Linked DNA regions of Homo sapiens: region 1 is linked to region 2. The links are contacts of gene promoters, found by promoter capture Hi-C in blood cells and fetal thymus (Javierre and others, 2016). All regions are on one chromosome and are shown on one strand. The core of a region is centred on a gene start or on the middle of the fragment in contact, and the rest is flanking DNA. Distances in the headings are between cores, read along the strand shown.

Region 1 (6,083 bases), core at 515-3,014, 350 kb after region 2:
TGAAACACAGCATTAAATAATTGTCCACCTCTGCCAAGAAGCTTCCCTTTAATCATTATTCCTGGCTTATCTTCCCTGGTCTTTTTAATGCAAGATTCACCTTCTTTTTCGTATATTGTTATTTTTGTATAGATCTTATCCTGCCTATGACATCTTGAAGGCAGAAATCTTTTACATTTTTGAATGCCGGCCATGCCTTGCAAATAATAGATGCTCAATTACTAGAGTTTTTTTGTAGCTCTTAAAATTATATTTATGAAACTATACTATTTTACTCTTTTTAATGAATCAATATTGAAAACTACTGTGGTTATGTTATCTAATAGACAAAATAGTGATCCTAAAAAATAGGAGGCATAGGTTTGCTGTAGTTGTGGTAGGGTAGGGGCAGCCAAAATAAATCTTACATATACAACAAAGAAAAATAGATGATGATTCTTGTTTCTATAGAGCAGAAGTTACTACGCTTGGGTCTTCGACTCCCTCGTACCAGTAGATGGGTTCAGGGCTTTAACAAACCCTCATAAATTAACTGGGAAATTTTACTCATATGAAGATTTTTAATAGTTGTTTTTAAATAACATCTTTATTGAGATATAATTCACAGACCATACAGTTCAAGAATTTAAAGTGTATAATTCAGTGGTTTTAAGTATGTTCACAGCTGTGCATTCATCACCACAGTTTTAGAACATTTGTCATCACCCCAGCAAGAAACCTCATGCCCATTAAACAGTCACTCCCCATTTTCACCCAACCCACCCAAAGCCCTAGACAATCATTAATCTACTTTCTATTTCTAATGGTTTGCCCATTCTGCACATTACATATAAAAAATGTCTATTCTGGACATTTCATTATCATACAATATGTGGTCATTTTGTGACTCATTTCATTTAGCATGTTTTCAAGGTTCATCCGTGTGGGATCTTTCCTTTTTATGATTAAATGATACTCCATTATATGAATATACCACAATTTGTTTATCCATCAGTTGGTGAACATTTGGGTGGTTTACCACTCTTTGGCTATTATGAATAATGCTGCTATGAACATTCACATATGTGCCTTTTTTTTTAGAGGGTGAGGATTCCTTAGTTTTTTAGATTTCACAAAGTGTCATGATAATGTAAAGGTGAAGTGCCCTTGCTATAGCGCTTGGAGAGGGAATGGCATTTAGCATTCACATATGACAAAATAATACCTGATTATATGTCATTAGTCAGAAAAACCTGGGTTATGTAGTAAACCTGGGTGTAAGTGGAATCCTTTTTTTTTTTTCCTCTAAGTTTGGAAGGAGACAGCAGGATCCAGAGAAGTGATTTAGGCAATATGTTTAGCATCTCTGTGCTTCACCTTTATCATTTGTAAAATGAAGATGTTGGTAAATATCACATGGAGCCCCTGGGAGGCTAAAACAAGATACTGTTCATGAATATTCATTATGAACTGTGAAGAGCTGTTCACATTTAAGGAATTTCAAGCCTCATGTTTGGATTTGTGCATGCTTCTAATTGCATTCATAAGTGCTGTCTTCTTGATTTGTCAGAAGACAGTAAAATGAATTTAACTCTATGTGGAATTCACTTTTTTATCTTGAAAATGAATACTGGGATATTGTAGATAATTTTTATCTTGTTTTGATATAGTATGGAAAGACCCACCACAATTTTTAGTAATGTATTGCTGCTTATTTAGGCTGGGGACATTGTTTTTAGTTTTGTTTTTGTTAACCAAATTAGAGGCTTTATATTCCCTTTATCTTTAAAAAATTGTCATCCTCTCTCACAAGACCTGTTTTAGCCCCTCTAGGAGGCTGGTTTAAGGTGCCTATGGTAAGAGGAGCTATATTTACATAGGTCTAGTTATGGAAGGTGCCATCAGTTATCATACCCTGTTCTCTTTGGGGCTTATTCTCTTCTCTATTTTGATGTGACAGCATAAATGTGCACTGTGGAACTGTCCGATAATAGAAGCCACTGGAGTACATATTTTTTCTTTTATTGTTTCTGGTCCTTAGCATCTATATAGTGAAGGGATTGCTTTGTGAATTGACTTTGGTATGGGGAAATCGGGATTGAGCCAGCAGGACTGCATGTTGTTGTATATATGTGAAACAGGCAAGATTGAGAACATTGTCTGTATTGATTTAAAATGTCTTTTTAGATTTTGAAATGTGCAATATTTGAAACATAATATGTTGGTTGTATTATTGAATTTCAAGGAAATAAATTTCTCTCTTTGAAAGTGCAGTAAACACTGAGTAGATTATTTGCTCAGCCATACGTATGTGGGTTGCTGGTGAACTTGGGATAAGAAAAAATTTCTTCATTTATGTCGTTTTGTTGTTGTTGCAATGGATTAAACCACACATCCTTCTCTTCTGCCTCCTTTATATACTAAACTCAGCAAAATCTGAGTAATGTGCTTTTCCTGTGAATATAGTTCATGACCTCATATTTAAAGGCAATGCAGTGTATTTAAAAGATCATCCTCCCTGTCCAGTTTTTTGTTTTTTATTTTTTGTTTCCTGAAACATTAAAGCTGTTGTGTGAGCTGTTGAATGCTTCCTGTGTATTTGTCCTAGGTGGGGCTTTGGCATGGCCTCAGCAAGCTGCTTGTTTAAAAGTTTAGCAATGTTAGAGTATGTCAGTATGTGACATAGGACAAAAAAAGGAGCACATTCAGCCTTGTGACTCTCTTTAGTCACCTGGAGGGGAGAAAATTATCCTTAGGGTGAATGAACATCCTGTGTAACCCTAATGTGAGTGCAATCTAATGTGATTTGAGTTATGTGACTAAGTAATGTATTGTCCTTAACCAAAGCTGTGTGCATCAGAATTGCCTGTGGAGTCTCTCTCTCTTTTTTTAAAATACAAGTTCCTGACTCCCATCCTTAGCAGTTGTTTGTATAGTCTTGAGTAAAACCTGACCACAGGTAATTGTGCTGTGTTTAGACTGGGCCATTGCCCCTGGGAGAATGGCCAGTCTCCCTTGTGTGCTGATTTGCTAGCCTGCTGATTCGGGCTATAGATATGGTGATCCAGGGATTCCACACACTAAACAGAACTAGGCTAGAGAGCCTGACCTAGCATTACATCAACACTGGAGGAATCTCCCAACATTTCCTTCCAGCTTGCACAAAACCAAAATGCCCACCGCAGAAAAAAACTGTGACGTGCAAATTGTTTAAAACATGGACATATTTTCGGTTTTTGTGTGTTTCCCGTGTGAGTCCTCTGACTTTTAGAGCAGGAAGGAGGAAGTCACCACTAAGCTATACGGACCTCTGTTATAACATTTACTGGGCATATCCTGGTATACCTAACTAGACTGGACTCCAAGGAGGCAGAAAGGGGGTCTGACCTGGCACAGTCCCTGACACAAAGGATAATTAATGTAGCAATTGTAATCAGATAAAATGATAGTTTCCCTTGTTTTTCTGTCCCATTTTTTTGCAATAATTTCAACATTTGTTTTATTTTTTTAAAGCTTTCAGGTTTCACTTATTTATTTTTTTCCATAAGTTATTGGGGTACAGGTGGTATTTGATTACATGAGTAAGTTCTTTAGTGGTGATTTATGAGATTTTGGTGCACCCATCACCCAAGCAGTATACACTGCATCATATTTGTAGTCTTTTATCCCTTGACCCCCTCCCACCCTTTCCTCCCAAGTTGCTAAAGTCCATTATATTATTCTTATATCTTTGCATCCTCATAGCTTAGCTGCCACATACTAGTGAGAACATATGATGTTTAGTTTTCCATTCATGAGTTACATCACTTAGAATAGTAATCTCTAATCTCATCCAGGTCACTGCAAATGCTGTTAATTCATTTTTTTAATGGCTGACTAGTATTCCATCATATATATATATTTGATATGTATTCCATCATATATATATATTTGTTGGCCATTTGTATATCTTCTTTTGAGAATTGTCTATTCATGTCCTTAGCCCACTTTTTGATGGGATTGTTTGTTTTTTTTTTTCTTGCTGATTTGTTTGAGTTCCTCGTAGATTCTGGATATTAGTCCTTTGTCAGATGTATAGATTGTGAAGATTTTCTCCCACTATATGGGTTGTCTGTTTACTCTGCTGACTGTTTCTTTTGCTGTGCAAAAGCTCTTTAGTTTAATTAAGTCCCAGCTATTTATCTTTGTTTTTATTGCATTTGCTTTTGTGTTCCTGGTCATGAAATCTTTGGCTAAGCCAATGTATGTAAGCCAAAGTTATCTTCTAGAATTTTTATAGTTTCAGGTCTTAGATTTCAGCCCTTAATCCATCTTGAGTTGATTTTTGTATAAGGTGAGAGATGAGGATCCAGTTTCATTCTCCTACATGTGGTTAGCCAATTATCCCAGCAACATTAGTTGAAAAGGGTGTCCTTTCCCCACTTCATATTTTTGTTTGCTTTGTCGAAGATCAGTTGGCTATAAGTATTTGGGTTTATTTCTGAGTTCTCTGTTCTGTTCCATTGGTCTTTGTGCCTATTTTTGTACCAGTGCCATGCTGTTTTGATGACTGTGGCCTTATAGTATAGTTTGAAATCAGGTAGTGTGACACTTCCAGGTTTGTTCTTTCTGCTTAGTCTTGCTTTGGCTGTGTGGGGTCTTTTGTGGTTCCATATGAATTTTAGAATTGTTTTTTCTAATTCTGTGAAGAATGATGGTGGTATTTTGATGGGAATTGCATTGAATTTGTAGATTGCTTTTGGCAGTATGATCATTTTCACAATATTGACTCTACCCATCCATGAGCATGGGATGTGTTTCCATTCATTTGTGTCATCTATTATTTCTTTCAGCAGTGTTTTGAAGTTTTACTTGTAGAGGTCTTTCAACTCCTTAGGTAAATTCCTAAGGATTTTATTTTTTTTGGCAGCTATTGTAGAGGGTTGAGTTCTTGATTTGATTCTCAGCTTGGGTACTGTTTGTGTATAGAAGAGCTACTGATTTGTGTACATTAATCTTGTATCCAGAAACTGCTGAATTCTTTTATCAGTTCTAGGAGCTTTCTGGAGGAGCCTTTAGGGTTTTCAAGGTAAAAGATCATATCCTCAGCAAACAGTGACAGTCTGACTTCCACTTTATCAATTTGGATGCCCCTTATTTCTTTCTCTTGTCTGATTGCTCTGGCTAGGACCTCCAGTACTATGTTGAAGAGGAATGGTGAGGGTGGCATCCTTGTCTTGTTCCAGTTCTTAGAGTGAATGCTTTGAACTTTTCCCCATTTAGTATTATGTTGTCTGTGGGTTTGTCATAGATGGCTTTTATTACATTAAGTTGTGTCCTTTCTATGCTGATTTTGCTGAGAGTTTTAATCATGGAGGTATGCTGCATTTTGTTGAATGCTTTTTCTGCATCTATTGAGATGATCCTGTGATGTTTGTTTTTAATTCTGTTTATGTGGTGTGTCACATTTATTGACTTGCATACATTAAACCATCCCTGCATCCCTGATATGAAACCCACTTGATCATGGTGGATTATCTTTTTGATGTGCTGTTGGAATTGGTTAGCTAGTATTTTGTTAAGGATTTTAGCATCTATGTTCATCAAGGATATCAGTCTGTAGTTTTCTTTTTTGGTCATATCCTTCCCTGGTTTTGCTATCAGGGTGATGCTGGCTTCATAGAATGAATTAGGGAGCATTCCCTCTTTCTCTGTCTTGTGGAATAGTGTCAAAAGGAATGTTTTCAATTCTTCTTTGAATGTCTCATAGAAGTCTTCTGTGAATCTATCTGATCCTGGACTTTTTTTTTGTTGGTAATTTTTAAATTACCATTTCAGTCTTGCTGGTTGTTATTGGTCTGTTCAGGGTATCAAATTTTTCCTGATTTAAGCAAGGAGGGTTGTATTTTTTTCAGGAATTTATCCATCTCTTCTGGGTTTTCTAGTTTATGTGTGTAAGGGTGTTCATAGTAGCCTTGAATGATCTTTTGTATTTCTCTGGTGTCAGTTGTAATATCTCCTGTTTCATTTCTTAGTGAGGTCATTTGGATTTTCTCTCTTCTTGGTTAATCTTGCTAATAGTCTATTAATTTAATTTATCTTTTCAAAGAACCAGCTTTTTGTTT
Region 2 (6,319 bases), core at 2,940-5,439:
ACGCCTACCTGTAGCTGGTCCATAAAAGACTCTATCATCACTAAAAGGCAGCTTTCCCCAACCCTCCACTTTCCCAACTGACGACACCCCAGACCAGATTTCCCCAAGGTTGTGATGTACTTACAAACAGAGCCACTTGTTGTTTGAGAAGACACGAATGTTCACCTCTGCCTAAAAAGAAATTTTCTGGGCAAGAGAAAAGGTGTGAACTTAAAGGTAGCTCCAAGTGATGCAAACTTGTCTGGTGCTCTTTGTTTTTGTTTTTGTTTTTCTAATTCTTATGGGTACGTAGTAGGTGTATATATTCTTTGTTTTGTTTTCAAGCAGCCCTGGAGAAGTGCCATAGAGAACGTAACAAGTGCTTTGTGTCTGACCCTATGACCTTGGGTTTGAAAAGGTGCTCTGGTGGAGAAACTGTCCATTAGGGAGCTGGTGGCCAACTTTTCAGAGGAAGTAAAAGAAAAAAAAAATGAATAATGTCCAAACCAAAAATCTCTTAAGATGGGAAAAACAAGGAAGCCAAATGACCTACTCCTTAGTCAATCATTCCCCTTCCCTTTCATCCACTTTGGCCCTTTTCTCCTTTTGCTTACTCCTACCGGGAACACTTATATATGTGCCATCAGATAAAAGATTAAAGATAATGTAACAGTCGAATGCCATTTAGAATCTATTTTTCTCCCCTTACTAAGGGATATACAGAAGAAAAAATATTATTTACTAGAACTGGATTTAGGAACAGAGAAACTGCAACCAATGCTTCTCTGGATAGGCCAGTCCTTCTCCTATGCAAATACACTATGGTGGTCCGTGAGACGAGGACCTCCATAGTGACCGTGTCCAGGATCCATGAACCCATCTTTGTGTGCTCCAACACTTAGCACTTTTCTCATCTTCTCCCACCTCCTAAACACAGGCAACACCACCTCACCTTTAGTTCTCTCTGCTCACCAGGTAGCTTACAGGTAACCAGAAGATTGTGGAAAAAAGAAAAAGAGGGAAAAGGGACAGACTTGAAGTAAAACAGAAAGTGGCAGTACTGCAGTTGTTTGACTTTGGCAACAGGGTGTTATGGGTGTGTGTGTGTGTGTGTGTGTGTGTGTGTGTGAAAAAGCACTGATGCATCAAAGATTTATTCACTGAACAGGTTGATTTATTTAACAGACTTGACATATGTCAAATTCTGCCATGTACTTACATAATTGTTACCAATTTATCAGAGCTGTTATTTAGGCAAATATTTGCTTTAAAAATATTTTCCTTTAAATGACTTTCTCTAGCTTACTGCACAATCAATCCGTGGTTCATTTAAATTATGTTATGTTAACAATAGCTATTTGGTGAAGGTCTCTCAAATCTAATCTTCCCGGAGCCATTTCATCTCTACTCAAACTCTATCCCTCTTTTTTCCTAGTAATAAATTTCTGGCTAAAATCACACCATAGGGAAAACTTTAAATATATGTACAATGTATTTTTATGTCATGGTATTTTACACTTACGATTTACAAAAAAAAGCAGTTTATCAGTATATTGTTAAAATCACAGATCTGAATGCTGTTAACCTTAAAAACTGTCTAAAAGGAAAAAAGCATGTGTTTTTGTATGAGTTTATGTCTGGGGGGGCCAGTTGGGACAGCCAGGTAGAGAATTCATCAGAATAAGAGAAAGTAAATAGAGAAATTTCAAGTCTTACAAATTTTGTTCAATCACCCTACCCCATGTGCACCAAAAAATTATATTTTTTTAACTAGCATGCATGCAATCTATCTAGATTTTCGGGGAGGTGAAATATTGGAAAGTATTTCTAAGAGACAAAAATGTCTAATCACTAGCCACCAGGGCTAGTTTCAGTTCCTCTATTGTAAATACGCTATTTGCAAAAACAAGAAGCTCATTTTTGACCTCCCAGGTTACGCAGTGTGGGGACTATGAAAGACATGGAGGAAGAAAGGGAAATACCACCACCACACAGTAAATTTTTGACCTAGTAAGCAAATACGTTTTTGTTGTTACTGCTGGGTAAAATGTATGTCTTCCAGAAATTAGACACTGTAATAAAAATGTACCAGCCCAAATTTAAATTGCTCACTAGACAGATGGTTAATTATATTCACAGCCACATATTTCACTGGGATAGAGTTTCAGACACTCAGCCAGTTTTATTTGATTAGCCGGTTTCCCAGTTAATATGTAAAATGACAGTTACTTAGGACTTTTTTGTTCCCTTCTAAAAATATTTTTTCAATAAGTGTAAATTCTCCTCAGCCATAAGAACGTCACTGCTGTAAATAAAACGTTTGGTCATATGTTACCTCATGTGTAAAAGATGTAAGGGAGATTCACCCCTCCAAAACACAAATGGTCGTAAGGAGTTCAGAGAAGACCATTACAGCACCTTTTCTCACCAAGCAAAATATTCCAGGAACTCCTCCACCAAAAACAACCAAGGATATATTCAAATCCCGGGATTAAAGTGCTTTAGACATTTTTAAAAACAGCCCTGCCAGCCCTACAACACAAATCATGTCTTTTCAGATAACAGTCTAGAAAATGCAACATTAGAAAAAGGCCACATATCTAAATGTAGTGCTGTGCACAGCATTCAACAATATGCTGGGAGCCAAGATCCAGAAGCAAAATATGAGACCCACTTATTCCAAAATGCAACCAGAAGCTTGATAAAAATCAAGAGTGCTGTTGTCGAAATGGGGATGCCAATTTTTTTTTAACTTCGAAAAAGACAGAAAACCTTGCGCGGGTGATTCGGTCCCTCACGAATCAGACAGACAGAAGCAGTCATGCTGAAATCGCTGAATTCCTCAGCGGAACGGCGCCAACTCAGCAGCGCGGTTTCCACACTTTCCCGGAGCGGGACTCCGCTCCCCGCGCCGGCTCACGGCCTTCCCGCCCTACAGGGTGTACAAGACGCGAGCCGACGTGTGCTGCGGGGCGCGGCAGAGAGAAGCGCCAGAAGCCACACAGAAAAGCGTCAATTCGACCGCCACCGAGAGCGCGAAGGGGCCACAAGCCAATTTCCGCAAAGGAGATGAGCTGGGCGAGGCTCGGTCTGGCCTCCAACTTAAACCTGTCCGCAGCCTCGGCCGAGTGGCGCGTGTCCTGGGGGCGCTCTGTGGTCGCCACGGCCGCCCGGCTTCGCACCTTTGCGGCTTTGGTCCGAGCGCCCGGCCTCGGCCGCCGCGTGGGTTTTCCCGCTCTCGCCGAAGCGTGCCATGCCCATGCCCCATTCCCTGGCCAGGCTCTACCCTGCACCAGTCCGAAAGGAGGCGGCACTCTGCCGAGCTGCGTGCGTGTAAGCGCGGCGGCTCCGGTCCGCTCGCTTCCCCTCCCCCCGCAACCCCCTTCCTACGGCGCAAGCACAGAGGCCTTTCCTAGATTGCAGTGCCTGTCAGGGCGAGCCGGGATCTCTCGCCCTAGCGGCCTCGCTCCCTCATACACAGACACACACATTCGCATACAGACGTCCTCCGTTCCGTTTTCCCTTCCTTCTCGTCTAGCTCGACTTACCCCAGTTCATTCCACCCCCTGCGGCCGCCACCCCGAGCCAGCCGGGGAGCCGGCGAGAAGGCCAGGAAGCTGTATGGCAGCGCTCCTACTCACCTCACAGGCCGACTCCCGAGGCGCACGTCGCTGGCGGGCTCAGGCAGCAGGCGCTGTAGCTAGCGCGGTCGCAGTCAAGGCTGGGCTGTCGCCGTCGCCGCAGCTGTTCGAGCTGCCTTAGCCGCCACCGCCGCTGCTACTGCTGCCGCCGCCGCCGCCGCCTCTGCCTCAGCTCCATACGCTGGGCCCGCCAGGTGGACGCGCCTCTCTCCTCGCTCGCTCCCTCAGGCTCCGCCGCCGCCGCGCTAGATGGAGTCAGAGCTGTCGGGCTCTGGCCCTGAAACTCAGAGCCTCCGCGGCTGCCCGGCTGCTCCAAGGGTCCGTGCTTCGCTTACACTGTCGCTCGCCCCGGCTGGAGCTACCTAGCGAGCGGGCTGCGCGCTCGGCGCCTGGAGCCCGCTCTGTGCGGTGGCTGCGGCCGTCCGCGAGAGGGAGAGAGGAGGGCGGCTGCTACTGTCGCTATAGCTGTTAAAGCTATTGCTAAATGCTGCTACTGCCGCTAATGCTACTGCTGTGGCGGCGGTGGTGGCGGCGGCGGCTGCTGCTGCTGCTGCTGATGCTACTGGTTTTCCTTCCCAGGTTCTTCCCCTGCCTCGTCCCCCCTCCTCCCCCTTCCTCCTCCTCCTCCTACTCCTCCTCCTCCTTCTCTTCCTCCTCCCTCTTCTCCTCCCTCTGCCGCTTTTCTCAGAGCCTCTGCAGGCACTGCCTGGTCCCCTCTTCTCCCGGAGCTGTCTCTGCCCATTCAGAAAGGTGCCCAGAGTGGGGCCGCCTCTGCTGCCACCATCGCTGTTGCCCCTGCCATTGTTTCCTCCAACACGGCTGTTCTTGCTGGACGCCTTCCCCCCTCTACCCTTCTTCCCCACCACAGCTCTCCCTTTCCCTCCCGCTCTCCTTACCCTCTCTATGGTCCCTTCCTTATGTGCCCCCCCAACTCTGTCCGTCTGTCCTTCCCTCCCCTCGGGCGCCCGGGAGCGCGCACTGCGCGGCCACCTGTCATAAAGGGCGCGCACCCCCCTTCCCCATTCCCACCCCGCCCCCCACTCGCGTTCCTGCTGCCCTTCCAGTCCACTACGCCAGTGGTGCGTTCTTCCCCTGGCAGACACGCAACCGGACACCACTCTCCCATGCCTTTTAGGGCAGTTGTGTGTGCGGAGAGGGGCACTCTGAAGTTTGGGGAAGAATATTTGAATGGTTTCATCCACCAAGCATCTAACCATTCAACCTTTACCTACTCTTAACTTAAGGGCCTGGGCCCCCAGGAAGGTGGGTCCTTTTTGAAGGGTTGGATGAAGGCAGACAATTGGGGAGTGACGTTTGGGGAATAAAGGAAAGAAGGGAAGCTGAATATGGCCAGGAAGGAAAACAGATCTGCCTGATGGCTGTCATTGAAAAATCTCTTAGGTGGTCATTTTCCTTCAGACGTCCTGGGAACTCAACAGGAAACAGCAAAACGATTGGAGAGCAACTCAGGAGGGACCATTTAGTACTTCTGGAGTCCTGGGTGCAAGGTTGAGGCCTGAGCCTCGGGAGATTTGTCACCACTAGGAGCCAAGGCAAGAGATGAAAAGGTTGGTACTAGAACAGAAGGGGTAAAAGTAGCTACTTTGTGTGCACTTGCTCCAACATCATTGCCAAAGCACAGCTTCTCCAGTCAGGCAGGGCCTCATTTCAGATTTCTTTGCTGCCACAGCTACAGCGTCATTTTGCTACGAGGGCTCAGGCTTTGAGATCTGATGTGTGCAACTTCTCACCATCACCTGTCACACAATCCCTCCCCAGAAACAGTGCAGAGGCGGGGGTATATTTTCTTTTCCCTGGCAAAGTACAGGAGATAAATGTTCCAGATATCCCATTGACAATAAGGTCTGGGTCACTTTACCAAGTTTGAGGCGCTCTACCATGGGTCTTTCATTCCTGGACAATAAACTGTCTGTATGGCTTTTACAACTCCCCATCTCTGTGCCTTTGTTTCTGTCATCCCACTTGCTTGAAACACTCTTGTTATTTCTCCCTCTCATTTTATATCTATGAAACTCATCCATAAATAATAGCTCATCCTGAAATAATTATACTTATTGGGTCCTTACTATGTGCCAGACACTGTGCTAAGCAATTTACATGAATTATTTAATCTTCACAACAAACACAATTTTACTATCTCCATTTTACAAATGAGAAAATCGAGTCACAAGGAAGTTAGGTATATGTGTCCTGAGGATAGGGATGATATGTTATTTATCTTGCATTTGTGAGACACTGTGCAAATATATTTGCATCTTTCAGGCACTGGAATAAATAAGAAGACAAAATTTGGCCTCTGTTCTCAAAAGCAAAAACAAACAAACAAAAAAGGTTAAACATGTAAAATGCCACCCATCTATTGGCTGGATCTCAATATCCAGAATGAATTGCTCTTTTTCCGTTGTCGGAAAGCACATTGTTTTCACCTGTATTAACTACATATGCTATTCTTCCTTTATAAAGTTAGTTGCTTATTTGTTACCAGTTATAATTTTTGTCAATGCCCTCCAGCCAAAAACTACCAGAAACACAACTGTAGTTGAACAATTTGGGTTTACTACTTGTTAGAGTGAGGGAGAACACACACCATGGGTGTTATGGGCTGATTTGCATTTCCCCAAAAATTCATATGTTGAAGCTCTGACTATTCCCAGTACCCCAGAATGTGACTGCTTGGA

The links. Contacts are between HindIII fragments. The CHiCAGO score rates a contact against its expected background, and 5 or more counts as called.
Region 1: a contact is called between a fragment that was not itself captured here and the fragment with the promoter of NEXMIF in region 2, in 1 of 17 cell types (naive CD4 T cells). The highest score is 5.9, in naive CD4 T cells.

What each region holds. Positions count from the first base shown.
Region 1 is chrX:75,276,140-75,282,222 of GRCh38, forward strand. All of the region lies in intron 1 of UPRT (uracil phosphoribosyltransferase homolog), which reads left to right. Among named protein-coding and RNA genes, the nearest start is that of UPRT, 5.1 kb to the left of the region's middle. The HindIII fragment of the contact is 3,451 bases long and covers 40-3,490 here.
Region 2 is chrX:74,921,263-74,927,581 of GRCh38, forward strand. NEXMIF (neurite extension and migration factor) reads right to left here and starts at 4,190. Exons shown (of 4, transcript NM_001008537.3): 1 at 3,621-4,190. RefSeq lists an enhancer at 1,764-1,823 and a silencer at 3,069-3,228. The HindIII fragment of the contact is 8,655 bases long and covers 2,675-6,319 here.